Regions from separate parts of the Homo sapiens genome. Here regions 1 and 2 are each linked to region 3. Evidence: promoter capture Hi-C in 16 types of primary human blood cells and fetal thymus (Javierre and others, 2016). All regions are on one chromosome and are shown on one strand. The core of a region is centred on a gene start or on the middle of the fragment in contact, and the rest is flanking DNA. Distances in the headings are between cores, read along the strand shown. Region 1 has its middle 230 kb from the start of LINC01605. Region 2 overlaps LINC01605 (long intergenic non-protein coding RNA 1605). Region 3 holds the start of LINC01605 (long intergenic non-protein coding RNA 1605).

What was found. Contacts are between HindIII fragments. The CHiCAGO score rates a contact against its expected background, and 5 or more counts as called.
Region 1: a contact is called between a fragment that was not itself captured here and the fragment with the promoter of LINC01605 in region 3, in 4 of 17 cell types (M1 macrophages, M0 macrophages, total B cells and 1 more). The highest score is 7.3, in M1 macrophages.
Region 2: a contact is called between a fragment that was not itself captured here and the fragment with the promoter of LINC01605 in region 3, in 3 of 17 cell types (monocytes, total B cells and naive B cells). The highest score is 5.9, in monocytes.

Annotation. Positions count from the first base shown.
Region 1 is chr8:37,368,636-37,372,655 of GRCh38, reverse strand. No RefSeq gene overlaps it. Among named protein-coding and RNA genes, the nearest start is that of LINC01605, 230 kb to the left of the region's middle. The HindIII fragment of the contact is 2,112 bases long and covers 645-2,756 here.
Region 2 is chr8:37,403,262-37,407,304 of GRCh38, reverse strand. LINC01605 (long intergenic non-protein coding RNA 1605) reads left to right here. Exons shown (of 5, transcript NR_170186.1): 5 at 286-675. Among named protein-coding and RNA genes, the nearest start is that of LINC01605, 190 kb to the left of the region's middle. The HindIII fragment of the contact is 8,119 bases long and covers 1-4,043 here.
Region 3 is chr8:37,597,988-37,601,792 of GRCh38, reverse strand. LINC01605 (long intergenic non-protein coding RNA 1605) reads left to right here and starts at 1,954. Exons shown (of 5, transcript NR_170186.1): 1 at 1,954-2,732. The HindIII fragment of the contact is 9,185 bases long and covers 1,568-3,805 here.

The DNA.
Region 1 (4,020 bases), core at 451-2,950, 230 kb after region 3:
ACAGGCCGGAGGTGTCCACTATTCCGCTGTGTTATTTTGGAGCCATCTATGTTAATTTTATGAAGTTGCAGCATGATTGTTGTATTGACCAGAAACGTGTACATTCGTTTTCGTGGCAGGATCTCTGAGCACCTAGTGGCAGCAATTTTCTGAAATACTTTAGGTTTAGACCCACAGGACATTTTTCTTCTTTATCTAAATGCTGATGTATAATAGGGAGCTATATTATTACTATAATGTTCTCTTGAATTGAGCCTCTGGAAAGGCGCCAAGACCAAGTTTGGACTCAAGCAAAAGCCCCACTGGGAAGAGTTACATGGGGGGTGTGGGGGCTGGGAGGCTCTTCAGTCACAGAGGCTCCTCTTGGCAGGAGACTGGACCCTCACTTTCCTTTAATGCACTCAAGACCGTTGAACCCCGGGCCAGATGCCCTCCCTCTATATGCTATTGCATTCCAGCCCATAATTGTGAATTATTATTAAAGTAATATATACTATTTACTGAGCACCTACTAAGTGCCAGGGATAGCCCAAGCTACTTTGCTTGGGCTCTTTATTCACTACTACCACACTGTCTTTATGGAGTAGGAACTATTGCTGTTTCTGTTTACAGATAAGGAAACTGAGGCTTAGAGAAAGTAAGCTTTCCCAAGATTAGGATGTAAAAGTCTTCTCAACCCTAGAGCCTGTGCTTGTTTTACCAGACTCAACTGCCTACTATTCTCAAGCACTCAGCTCCTCAAATCTCAAATCTCACATCCCTAACCGCCCATCTCCCCTCATCTAAACCTCTGCAGCAATACATTTCTTTCTCTTTTCTTTCTTTTTTTTTATTCTCTTTTCTTCTTTCTGACAAGGTCTTGCTCTGTCACCCAGACTGGAATGCAATGGCATGATAACAGCTCACTGCAGCCTCCACCTCTGCCTCCCGGGCTCAAGTGATCCTCCCACCTCAGCTTCCCAAGTAGCTGGGACTACAGGTGTGCACCACCATGCCCAGCTAATTTTTGTATTTTTTGCAGAGATGAGGTTTCACCATGTTGCCCAGGCTGGTCTCAAACTCTCGGACTCAAGCAATCCTTCTGCCTCAGTCTCCCAGAGTGCTGGGAGCAATACAGTTCTAAAAGTCACAGCCAGTACTAAACATGGCCCCCCGGCTGCTAGCCCTATGGTGAAGTGTCTTCTTGTTTTGTGATATGGTATCCCTGGTCAGAACGGACAAAAGATCCTTTGAACTGTGATAGGAGGGGAGGGGCTCTTGCCTGTGCTTTGCCTGTGTGTCTGTAGAGTGTTTGTGGCAGGCTTTTCTTAGGGAATTGAGGGATTCCTTCTATCCCAAGTGGTCTAGCCAAGAGGAAGCAGATACGCCTCATTAACAGGTCCTCTCAACCTTTGAGAAGTACAGGGAAGCAGCCTGAGGCTTCCAGACTCTGCAGCTGCTAGGACTGCGCTGCACCTCCCTGGAGCAACTGACACTGCTTCTCAGTGCCTGCTAATGCCTGGATGCAGCTCTCATTCTTGGTACCAGATTCCCCTCCCCCATGACTTTTCCAGAAACCCTCAAGATCTTTCACTTTTAAGAAATAAACAAGAAAGTGGGCCCTGTATTTAGTAAAATATATCTTTCAGCCTGTTCAGCCAGCTAGGTCCTTGATCCCAGGCGTTTTCATCGTAAGGAAGACTTTGATCAACTGCCGCATTTCAAAGAGACAGGGAAGTTCTTTAGCTTGCATGAAGCACAATCCCTGTCTGTACTGGAAAGTCCCGGGCTGCACAGTGCTGGCACCAGCCCTTGGGAACCAGCAAGTGAGATGAATTAGAAGCCTAGAGCAAAATATTTGGTTTCATGCAATTTAGTTTCTTATTACTACTTGCTTAAAATTCTGTGGAACAATTAAATCTTAAAAGTGTCTTGTGAATGCCTTGGGATCTCTTTTCCTTCAGGTTTATTGATTGTATTTGATATCACTCACAACTGCAATTTTTTTTTTTAACATTTAATAAGACCATTTGGTTGGAACCCAGAAAAAGTGCACAAAACGAGAGAGCACCTCAACTATGGCAAGAGGCCCAAGCCAGTGGAAAGCCTCACATTTATCCACCAAAAACCTTCTCCTTGTGGTTGACTTTGAATTCAGGGCATTCGCTGGACCCAGTGGAGAAACAGTTCTGAAGGAATGCTTGGCGATCCTGTCCTTGAGTAATATAGAGAATCATTGGGAGTAAAGCAGAGAAGATCCCAAACAAAAGGCGTTTGAGAACCCTTTAAGGAAACAGATGAACAAAAACAAATGGATATAGGATCCTCTCCCTCCCTCTACTCAAACAGAGGTTCTGAGAGCTGATTTACAAATAAACATTGGCAGCATGCTCTGAATTTGACTTGCAACTTTCAGTACCAGGTAATCACACTGAGTGTCTTAACTCCAGGCGTTTCAGGAGTAAAGGAGTCATCGAAGGTAGAAAAACACTATAAGCAAGTGTTTATTTCATTTTTCTGACCACCTCTTGGCAAGCGCTTCACTCATTCTTCTTCCCAAGAGTTGGCTTCTAGATGCCTGAACTGAAGAGGGCCTGAATAAATTCACGGTACGGCTGATGAAGCCAGGTCTGCTGCCTGAACTTCTTTTTTGTTTAAAAAAAAATCCAGGTTAAAAGGCATTTTAGAATAATAAAGTATAAGAGCTGCCTTCTGTCTATCCTGGAAGATGGGCTACCATCCCACTCCATTTCAGCATGGAGGTGTCGTAAGAAGCTTAAAACACATAACCCCTGCAAAGATGGAAATGAATATTTTTCGGCAAAAGAGGAAATAGAGGGGGTGAGGAGGAGGTGGAGGAAGAAACACCGATTACGCTGCTTTGATGGCCTTCTATTTTCAAGCCCTGGGAAAGAAGGATTGGAGCTGCCGCACTCAATATAGAGCAGCGATCTGTGGTTGAGGGAATGCAGCACATCTGCCTTTTATAGGTTTGGAATGAAAAATGTTTTTAATTAGGGAGTGGAATTGGGGCTTTTAGTCTTGCTACATGCTATGTACCTGTCAAACCTGCTGGATGGGAATTTAGTTCTGACCTCTCACCCCTACCTACTTTAACCAAAGGATTCCTGGGAGAAACAGAGGAGCCCTGAGCCCCTGAGAAAATCTGAATTGCTGCTTCTGGGGTTCCAGATTCATCATATGGAATGATGCAGAAAACTCTTCCACCTTTGTAATGTGACTCCAATGGCTTGACTTGGGGCAGGAAGGAAGGATGGGTCAGAACACTGTTGACTGTTCTGATACTGTGAGCCAGGAGGGCTTAGGGACCCAACGAAGCTAGAAAAACAAAGAAGAAATAGAATGATGATAAAAACTTAGAGATAAAGATAAAAAGTAAAACAAGATGGAAAGGTAATGCTCCATTGAAAGAGTCCCACTTAAAACCAAAGAACATCCCTTTACCATTTCCCCTTGCCCTCCAAAGAAAGTCCACTGTCAAGGGAAGGAAAATCATTCTGTTCAGGTGACAGCTCTTTGTCTGAGATACCAACAGGCAGTGAGGCTCAATAGCATCTTTATGGGATTTCAGGAGCCAGAAAAAGAAAGCAGCTACAGTAAGAAATTGCTATTCTCTCCTGATCGTAAGCTACAGGGTCACTTGAGCTTAGTGTCTGGGCTTTTCCCCAATTTTTTCTTTTTTTTTTTTTTTTTTTTCCCAAATGCCTCTCAGCTATAAGGTGCTCCCCTAAGAGATGTAACTCCTTCTTCAAATATTGGAAAAAGGCTCCTGGGAGTGAAGTCAAGAGCTAGTAATCTGCTTGGATAGTTTGAGGCAAGCTTCAAAGCAGGAGACTGGCCTAATGAGATCTCTGTGCTTCTTCAGGCCCTGACGTTCTATGTTTGCATTCTCTTTGACCCTCCTTCCATGTCTGCTTTATAAAATTCAGTTTGAATACTTGAATTCTTTTCTAGGCCCTCAGTATTAATGCCCACCTGTTAATATGTTACTAACACTTTTAAAAAAGTTTTCTGATATGA
Region 2 (4,043 bases), core at 850-3,349, 190 kb after region 3:
CAGTCTTGAGCAACAACAAGAAGCAATGATCTCCCTGCCTGTGACAAATGTGGTGCTGTTTAGTTATGGTTCGGGGCTGAGAGGCCCCAGTGGGTGCCTGAAAGCTGAGCTTGGGCTGAGAAGGGAAGAGAGAAAGGGTCTCTGACTGATGGCAGGGTTGGCAGGTGGCACACCCAACTTTTCCCTCTCCTGTTCTCCCCTGCTGTGGCCCTAGTAGCCCATCTTGCTGTGGTTTCATGGCAGCCCAGCTGAGGACACTGACAGGGTCATGGTTTCTCCTTGCAGATTCCTCAGCAGTGCCTGGAGAAGACCAGGAGAGGAAGCAGAAGACCCTCCTCAAAGAAGCAGCCTTCACCTCCAGACCTCCCAGCGGGACTTAGACAATGGGGTTAGGCAGTCACATGTCTGCACGTGGAAACTTTCTGGGACTGTGCTTGGATCCTGGCTCTGCCTTTTACTAGCCATGTGACCTTGGGAAAATCACTTGACTTCTCCGTGCAGGATTCCTCATCTGTAAAAATGGTCTAAGATTAGGAGCCACCTCAAGGTTGTTGTAGGAATTAAATTAATTCATGTTTATAAAGTGCTTTGAACAGCGTTTGGCACATGGTAAGTGCTATGTGGTAAGTGCTGTCTATTGATTACATAAATAAAAGTGATCACCATTAGACTTTCCATGCAGATGATATTATGCATATACATATCTCCCGCATATGACGTCATTGGATCGTTTTGCAATGGTGGGGGGTTTATTCTTTTCCTTTTTGTTTTCTTCTTTTTTTTGTCAGATGAAGAAACTGATGGGAAGTGAATTGGTTTGTATTAAACATTAGGTTTGCTAGGTCTCTCACATATTTATTTAGTCCTCATAACAATTGTATAAAATAAATATTATTTATTCATTTATTTATTTGTAAAGATGGGTCTCGCTATGTTGCCCAGGCTGGTCTTGAACTCCCGGGCTCAAGTGATCCTCCTGCCTTGGACTTCCAAAATATTGGGATTAAAGGTATGCGCTACTGCACCCGGCCTAAAAGAAATACTATTATCCCCATTTTACAGATTTGTAAACAGAAGCTGACACTTCAGAGTTCCATCCTAATGAAAGTAGGATGTGACAGGGGAGCAAATCTGCTTTGCCCCTGCCCAAGGGCTGGCAGCTCCTCCTCCTGGGGTGCATGGTGAGTGGGTACACCACTCATCTGTATGTACCCGGCAGAAGCTGTCAATTCAGTTCACGTCACTCAAGTTGAATGGATGTAAAACACACACAGAAGCACCAAGTAATTGCATTGTTTTCAAATTACTCACCTCTAGGAGAATTAAATGAGCAAACGGAAGAGCAGCAACCCTGAGTTACATTTCTCAAGACACCGGGGCTCTTGATGGCACAGCAGCAGCTTGCTAGAGCTTGGTAAAGAGACTTGGGCCTGGTACCTGAAGGGCAATTCCTTGGCCATGACATTGTAGGGAAAGACCTCTATGGGTGTTGAAAAGACAAGGCGAGGACAAGAAGAGTTGAAAAGGAGCTGTTCTGAAGCCACCTGGCTGTGGATGGAGGAAGCCACATGTAGCTTAGGTAGCCTGCTATTGTAATTTTTTCTGCAACTGAAGAATTCGAAATGGGTTTGGTGGGTAGCGAAGGGCAGAATCTGGCTTCAAGGTGACAGAGTTTGCATAGAGATGGCCTTCTTGAGCAAAGGTAGTGACTCCTACATTTTTTTTTTTTGTAGAGTTGTGATACCCATGAGTTAGTCAGCTTGGGCTATCATAACAAAATACCACACATTGGTTGGCTTAAACAACAGAAATTCATTTTCCTGTAATTCTGGAGGCTGGAAGTCCAAGATCAAGGTGACGACAGAGTTGGGTTTCCTCTGAAGCCTCTCTCCTTGGTTTTCAGATGGGTGTCCTCTTGCTGTCTCTTCATGTGACTGTCCCTCTGCATGTGTGCCCCTGGGGACTCTTTCTTATCTTATAGTGACACTAGTTCTATTGGATTGAAGTGTACCCATACGACCTCATTTAAACTTAATTACATATTGTAAGGCCCTAACTTCAAATACAGTCACATCCTGAGGTACTGTGTATTAGGGCTTCAACATATAAATTTTGGGGCAATCCAGTTCAGCCCATAAAATCCCTTTTTGGTTGCTTGATTCTGTTTATTTGGTGTCATGCCTTCCTTTTCCTAAAGAACTTCATGAATAGAATTACTTTCTAAGTGAAAGGAACAAAACTGATTTTTATTAAAAATTATTTTGAGATGCTTGTGACAAATTTTGAAGTAAGTGAAGATTTTCCTGGAGCTTCTACAAAATCCTGGCTGAGAATCCCTGCTTTCTGGACAGTTGAGAAGGAAATACACTTAGTACAGCTGTTAGAGAGATATAGTTGCAACCACTGAGTGCTTATTATCTGCCAACTTAAATATATTGCCCAAGGGAATAACAAATATTCTAGTGTTCTTGTTAAGTATATTGTCTAAGGTCACACAGCTCTTAAACAACAGCTTCAGGATTTGAACCTGGAATCTATCTGACTCCTAAGTCCAGATGCTGTTCACCACATTAGGTTGAAGCATGGCCAGTGTTCATAACATACAACTATGTCTCCATATCTTTTGCTAACCAATGTTCTTGTATGTGCATACCTTACAGGGCAGCCATTCACCACAAGCCCTACTAGATGGCTTCCTGTAATAAGGGTAGAACAGTAGTACTCTCCTTTTGAGAAGTTATTTGTAATTTTGTTGGTGGGCTGACATTTAGGCCCTGCTCTCCAGCCCCAGAGGGGATCCCATAACCTAGATCAGGCCAATGATGATTATCTCCGTGACTGTAGTGGCTGGTCCAGCGGGGAGGGTCAGGCAGGTAAGCTGGCCCAACCTGAGTCCTTCTTGAGGATTTTAGAAACTGAAGGTAGGAGAGAAAAATTCTCTCTTTTCTTCTGGGGAACGGGATGAAGGTGGTGGGTAGGCAGAGCTGTTGGGATGTGGATCCAGGGATTCTGGAAGTCCTGTCCTCCACCATGTAAAGAATACATCCTGCAGAAGGAGAGAAGGGAGCCAGCACACAGAGAAGCAGAGTCAGGAGATGGAGAAGGAGAATCCTGAGAGCCTGAAGGTCCCTGGGTCCAGCCATTGTCAAGGCCGAGTTCTACCGTCCTTAAGTTGTTTACCTTTCTTTCTTGCTTGCTTCTGTTAGAAGATGAACACTCAATGAAAAATCACCAAACATCTGAGGAAAGCCATCAAAATGAAATAAACGAAACACACAAGTTCCTAAACACAAGTGAACAGCGTGGGCTGGGTTTTTGTCGCTTGGAACTGGAAACGCTGACGATAATGCTGACCTCTGAGCAGACCCACGTGAGGGGCAGCTGTGGTGTGGTGTGATGATGCTGGGATAGGCACTCAGATGGTTGAGTCTGAGTTTGGCTCTGATATTATATCAACTGCATGGGCAGCTGTGGTGTGGTGTGATGATGCTGGGATAGGCACTCAGATGGTTGAGTCTGAGTTTGGCTCTGATATTATATCAACTGCATGGGCAGCTGTGGTGTGGTGTGATGATGCTGGGATAGGCACTCAGATGGTTGAGTCTGAGTTTGGCTCTGATATTATATCAACTGCATGGGCAGCTGTGGTGTGGTGTGATGATGCTGGGATAGGCACTCAGATGGTTGAGTCTGAGTTTGGCTCTGATATTATATCAACCGCATCATTTTGGGGAAGACACAATTTCTCAGAATTTTATTTAGTTGTAAAATAAAGATAATGATATTACATGCTCTGTCTACCATCTAGAGTTTTTGTCAAGACAAACTGAAGTAAACCGTGTTAGAGAAAAATGTTACAAAATTTTAAGCGTGAAGTGAGTAAACAGTGACTCTGTCCTGAGACTACAGCGGAAAGCTGCCTCACAGGCCACATGTGAAAATCTTCTGCCAGAGAACATGAACACTCAATGAAAAATTGCCAAACATCTGAGGAAACCCATTAAAATGAAATAAACAAGACAAGTTCTTATAATCAAGGAAAC
Region 3 (3,805 bases), core at 705-3,204:
TCATGGCTTGCTTATCTGTAAAAGGTGGGCGATGATAACTATCTTGCATGATGGTTGCAGGGGGGTCAAATCAGATAATATCTGCTTACCCAGAGCCTTGCAAATAATAGTTGCTTACCAAATGTCCTTGTATTTTGTTGAGTTGCTCTTGCCTTGGGTGGGAACTGACCTTTTAGAGACAGTGGTGGGACGGGGCAGGAGGTGAGTGGGTGGGGAGGGCTGAAGATGGTGAGAGACTGGAAGATTCCCGGGGTTCATCAAGTTAGTCAAGAATGACTTTGGGAGACCCTCCCACCCCCGGGTGCTAACCCCAGAACCAGGCAACTTGGGGGCTGTGGAAACAGAGGCTACTAAGGAAATAGAGACCAAAGAATGACTTAGCATACCTAGGATTTCAAGTTAATGAGTTGAAAATTATACCCAGGGCCAGGGAGCCTCACTGAGAGGTCAACCAAGCTTATCCTTGGCATTTCCTCCCCACCCCGACCTCTGCCTGGGATGTTCTCTGCTGTCATTCTCTGAGTGTATGCGGATACTCTCCTATCTCATCTGCAAAACAAGTGGCTTGGATGGGATGTTGACTAAGACCAACGAGATACCTTCCATGGTCTTAAAGATCAAAGATTTTACTTTTCTGTTAATCTGAGAACTTAGAAGGATCCCCTCCAAGTTAGAGGACTACATTTACAGCAGCTTAGATGAACAGAAAGGACTAGAAGTGAGAGTGATGGTAACAAGGGCAGTCACTTTCCATCTATAGTGCTCTGGAGTTGATGACAGTGCTCCGTGTATTAGGTTTCCTGATTAAAAACTGTTTATTTTGTAGCAGAGGCTACTGAGGGCCGGAGGTTGTTAAATGACTTGCTTGAGGTCACGCAGGTAGTGAGTGATAAAGTCAGCCTCCTAACCAGGGTTTTCCAGTCCTAACTCTGATACAAAGTAACTGTGTGAAGACATTGCCCATATCTAGGCCCCAGTCTCCCAATCTGTGAAATGGGTGGATTGTTCCACTGGCAATAAGATGTGGTGTTTTGTTTTGTTTTGTTTTGTTTTGTTTTGTGACAGGGTCTCTCTCTCTGTTGCCTGGGCTGGAGTCCAGTGGCATGATTCCAGCTCACTGCAGCCTCAAACTCCTGGGCTCAAGCGATCCTCCTGCTGCAGTCTCCTGAGTAGCTGGGACTACAGGTGCACACCACCGTGCCCAGCTAAGTTTTTTTTTTTTAGTTTATATGGGGTCTCACTATGTTGCCCAACCTAGTTTTGAACTCCTGGCCTCAAGCGATCCTGCCTTGGCCTCCCTGAGTGCTGGAGTTACAGATGTGAGCCACCGTGCCCAGCCAGATGTGTGATCTTATGGTTTGCCTTTTGCTCCCACACGTCAGAACTGGTGATCTGCTTGCCCTTGGAATGCCAGGGGCCGACCTGATTTTCAGGAAATGGTCCTTTCCCTGTGGGTGGGGAAGCTTCACTTGGTGCTGTTTGGTAAATAACTGTATTGGTCTCCGGAGGGTTTGAAAATCACATTTCTCCCTCTTATTGCTATGGGCGACTAACACTAGCTAAAGCTTGAAATCAGGCCCCAAAGGGTGGCCTCGCTGATGACTCTGGTTTCTCTTTTCACTGTCTAGGGCCCAGGGAGTTTCTCAGCATTTTTGATTGTGAAGGACTATAGAGGCCTTCCTGTGCCCAGAAAGGCCTTGCTTGGTGGGTGTTTAGTCCAAGCCCTTGCCTTCAGGCGGATGGACCAGATGACCTAATAAAGTTTCTAATAAAACCTCCTGGGCAGATCACCAACCTCCTTCCTCTTTAAAGTCTCATTGAGAGAGGAATGTCTACAGCATCCTTGGTAACACATTACAGTGTTTCACAACCCTCCTAGCCAGGAAGCTGTTCTTAATGTTTAACCTTAATCCCTCCCGCTGAAATTTAAGGCCCTTTTCTCTTGTTGAGTGCAAATGGAGAACAGCTGCTCACGCTCGTCGTCTGACATCAGCTATTTCTCAGGATGACCCTGCGAGACAGGCCAGGGTCATTAGACCCAATTTGGTTCTCAGCAAATATGTGTTTATTCCTGCATGCGTGGGCCACAGGCTGGTTTCTTGGGTGCAATGAATAGCTGCAGGTTTATTAGGGTGTCTTTTTAGATGGATGTATGTTTCCCGATGTCTATAGAACACTCCGGACCCCGGAGAGTGAAGACTCTGCCTGTCGGACTTGCTTTGAGAAGATCCTTCTCCACCTCCCCATGGCAGAAGTTGCTTCACAGAGGGGAACAGTTTTATGGATGTGGCTGAGACCTTAAACTTGAGGCAACCCATCTGAGGTGGCATCCAGAGGAGACTGGCTGGCCCCTCCTTCACCTTGGATGTAGTGCTGTTTCTAGGATCTCTTTTCAATCAGCAAAACAGGGGATGTTCCAAGAGGGTGTGGATTCCCTGCCATCCCACATGGTCAAGTGGAGGGGACGGGAAAAAGCTATGAAGGGTTTGTGACCACACAGACTCTCCTGGCCCCCTGTCCTTTTGGAAAGAAGACAGGGATGAAATATAATCAAGCAATTAACCACCCCCATCATCACCAAGAACAACAGTATCAACAAGAAGAACAGGGACAACAAAACCCACGGATGAAACATTCCTTTCTCAGCTCAGATCTTATCTGGTGCGTTCTCTCTCTGCTCTGTCTTGGTGTGTGGTTTAGAGAAACATGGACAACGCTGTTTGGAAGAACAGGTGAGCGAGGGTGGGGAATTTCAGAGGCCTGGGCCCACCGCCTCCACCCCTTCCCCAGTTTAACCTTTGACAGGATCTTCACCTCTCTCTGATCAGCATTGCTTCTTGTTCAAAGGCCTCAGCCACCCAGCTGTGTCCCTTTCCCCAGAAAGCAAGGGCAGATGGCAGTGGGTCTGTTGATGAGAGAACTTTAAGGGCCCAATCAGTCCCTGGGCACCCCCTCCTGGGCTCGTTTTCTCCAGGAGGCTGCATTCTGATCCATAAACCTTCTCCTCGGGGTTTAGGGTCGAGCTGTTCCTGATGTTTATCGGAGACTGGGATCAAAGCTATCCAGGTCATAAATCTCTCTCTGTGGCTGTTGGGCCCCAGGGCAGCTGAAGAGGGTTGACAGCCCTTTGGACCTCAAAGGAAAAAATGTGCTCTACTCCACCCACTCCCAGCTCTGCCAAGAAGCTGTCCTCTGAGAAGCCATGGCTGGGCCGTTCCATTCTGGGGAGCTGCTGAAAAGAGCTGGGAGGCCGAGAAGAACTTGCGTGTGCTGGGGGAGAGGAAGCCTGGCCTTGAGGGAGGGGTGCAGGTGTGGCTCCTCTGTGTGTGGGGGCTGGGGGACCTTGTGTGCCTTTTCCTTGTGGCTGTGAAATGCTTTATGAGTACTTCCATAGGAGGATGGACAGGGAGTCGGGGAGATAAACTCAGCCACAAGGCCCCAGGGCCTCAGGAAACTTGCACCCAACCCTCTCATTTTACAGAAGAAAACTGTGCCTGGAAGGTTGAAGGGTTTGTTCCCAGTCACACAACCAGGGATCCTTAGGACAGCCAGACCAGGAAACCATTTCCAAACTGCCAAGCCATGGCAGAGTATCAAGACCTCAGGAACCATCGAGACACCATGGAAGCATTGGGAAAAGCCTCCTTAGCTTTTGAAGCTCCTCATTGTTCTTGAGTGTGCATGGAGCCCATGACTGCGGGGTTTTGTAGACACCTCAGGGATTACATGACTGGTACCCCTGACAAAGTCAAGGCTGCTGGACAAAATGAGTCCGAGGATTTCAGGGGCAGCTGGGCGCAGGAGC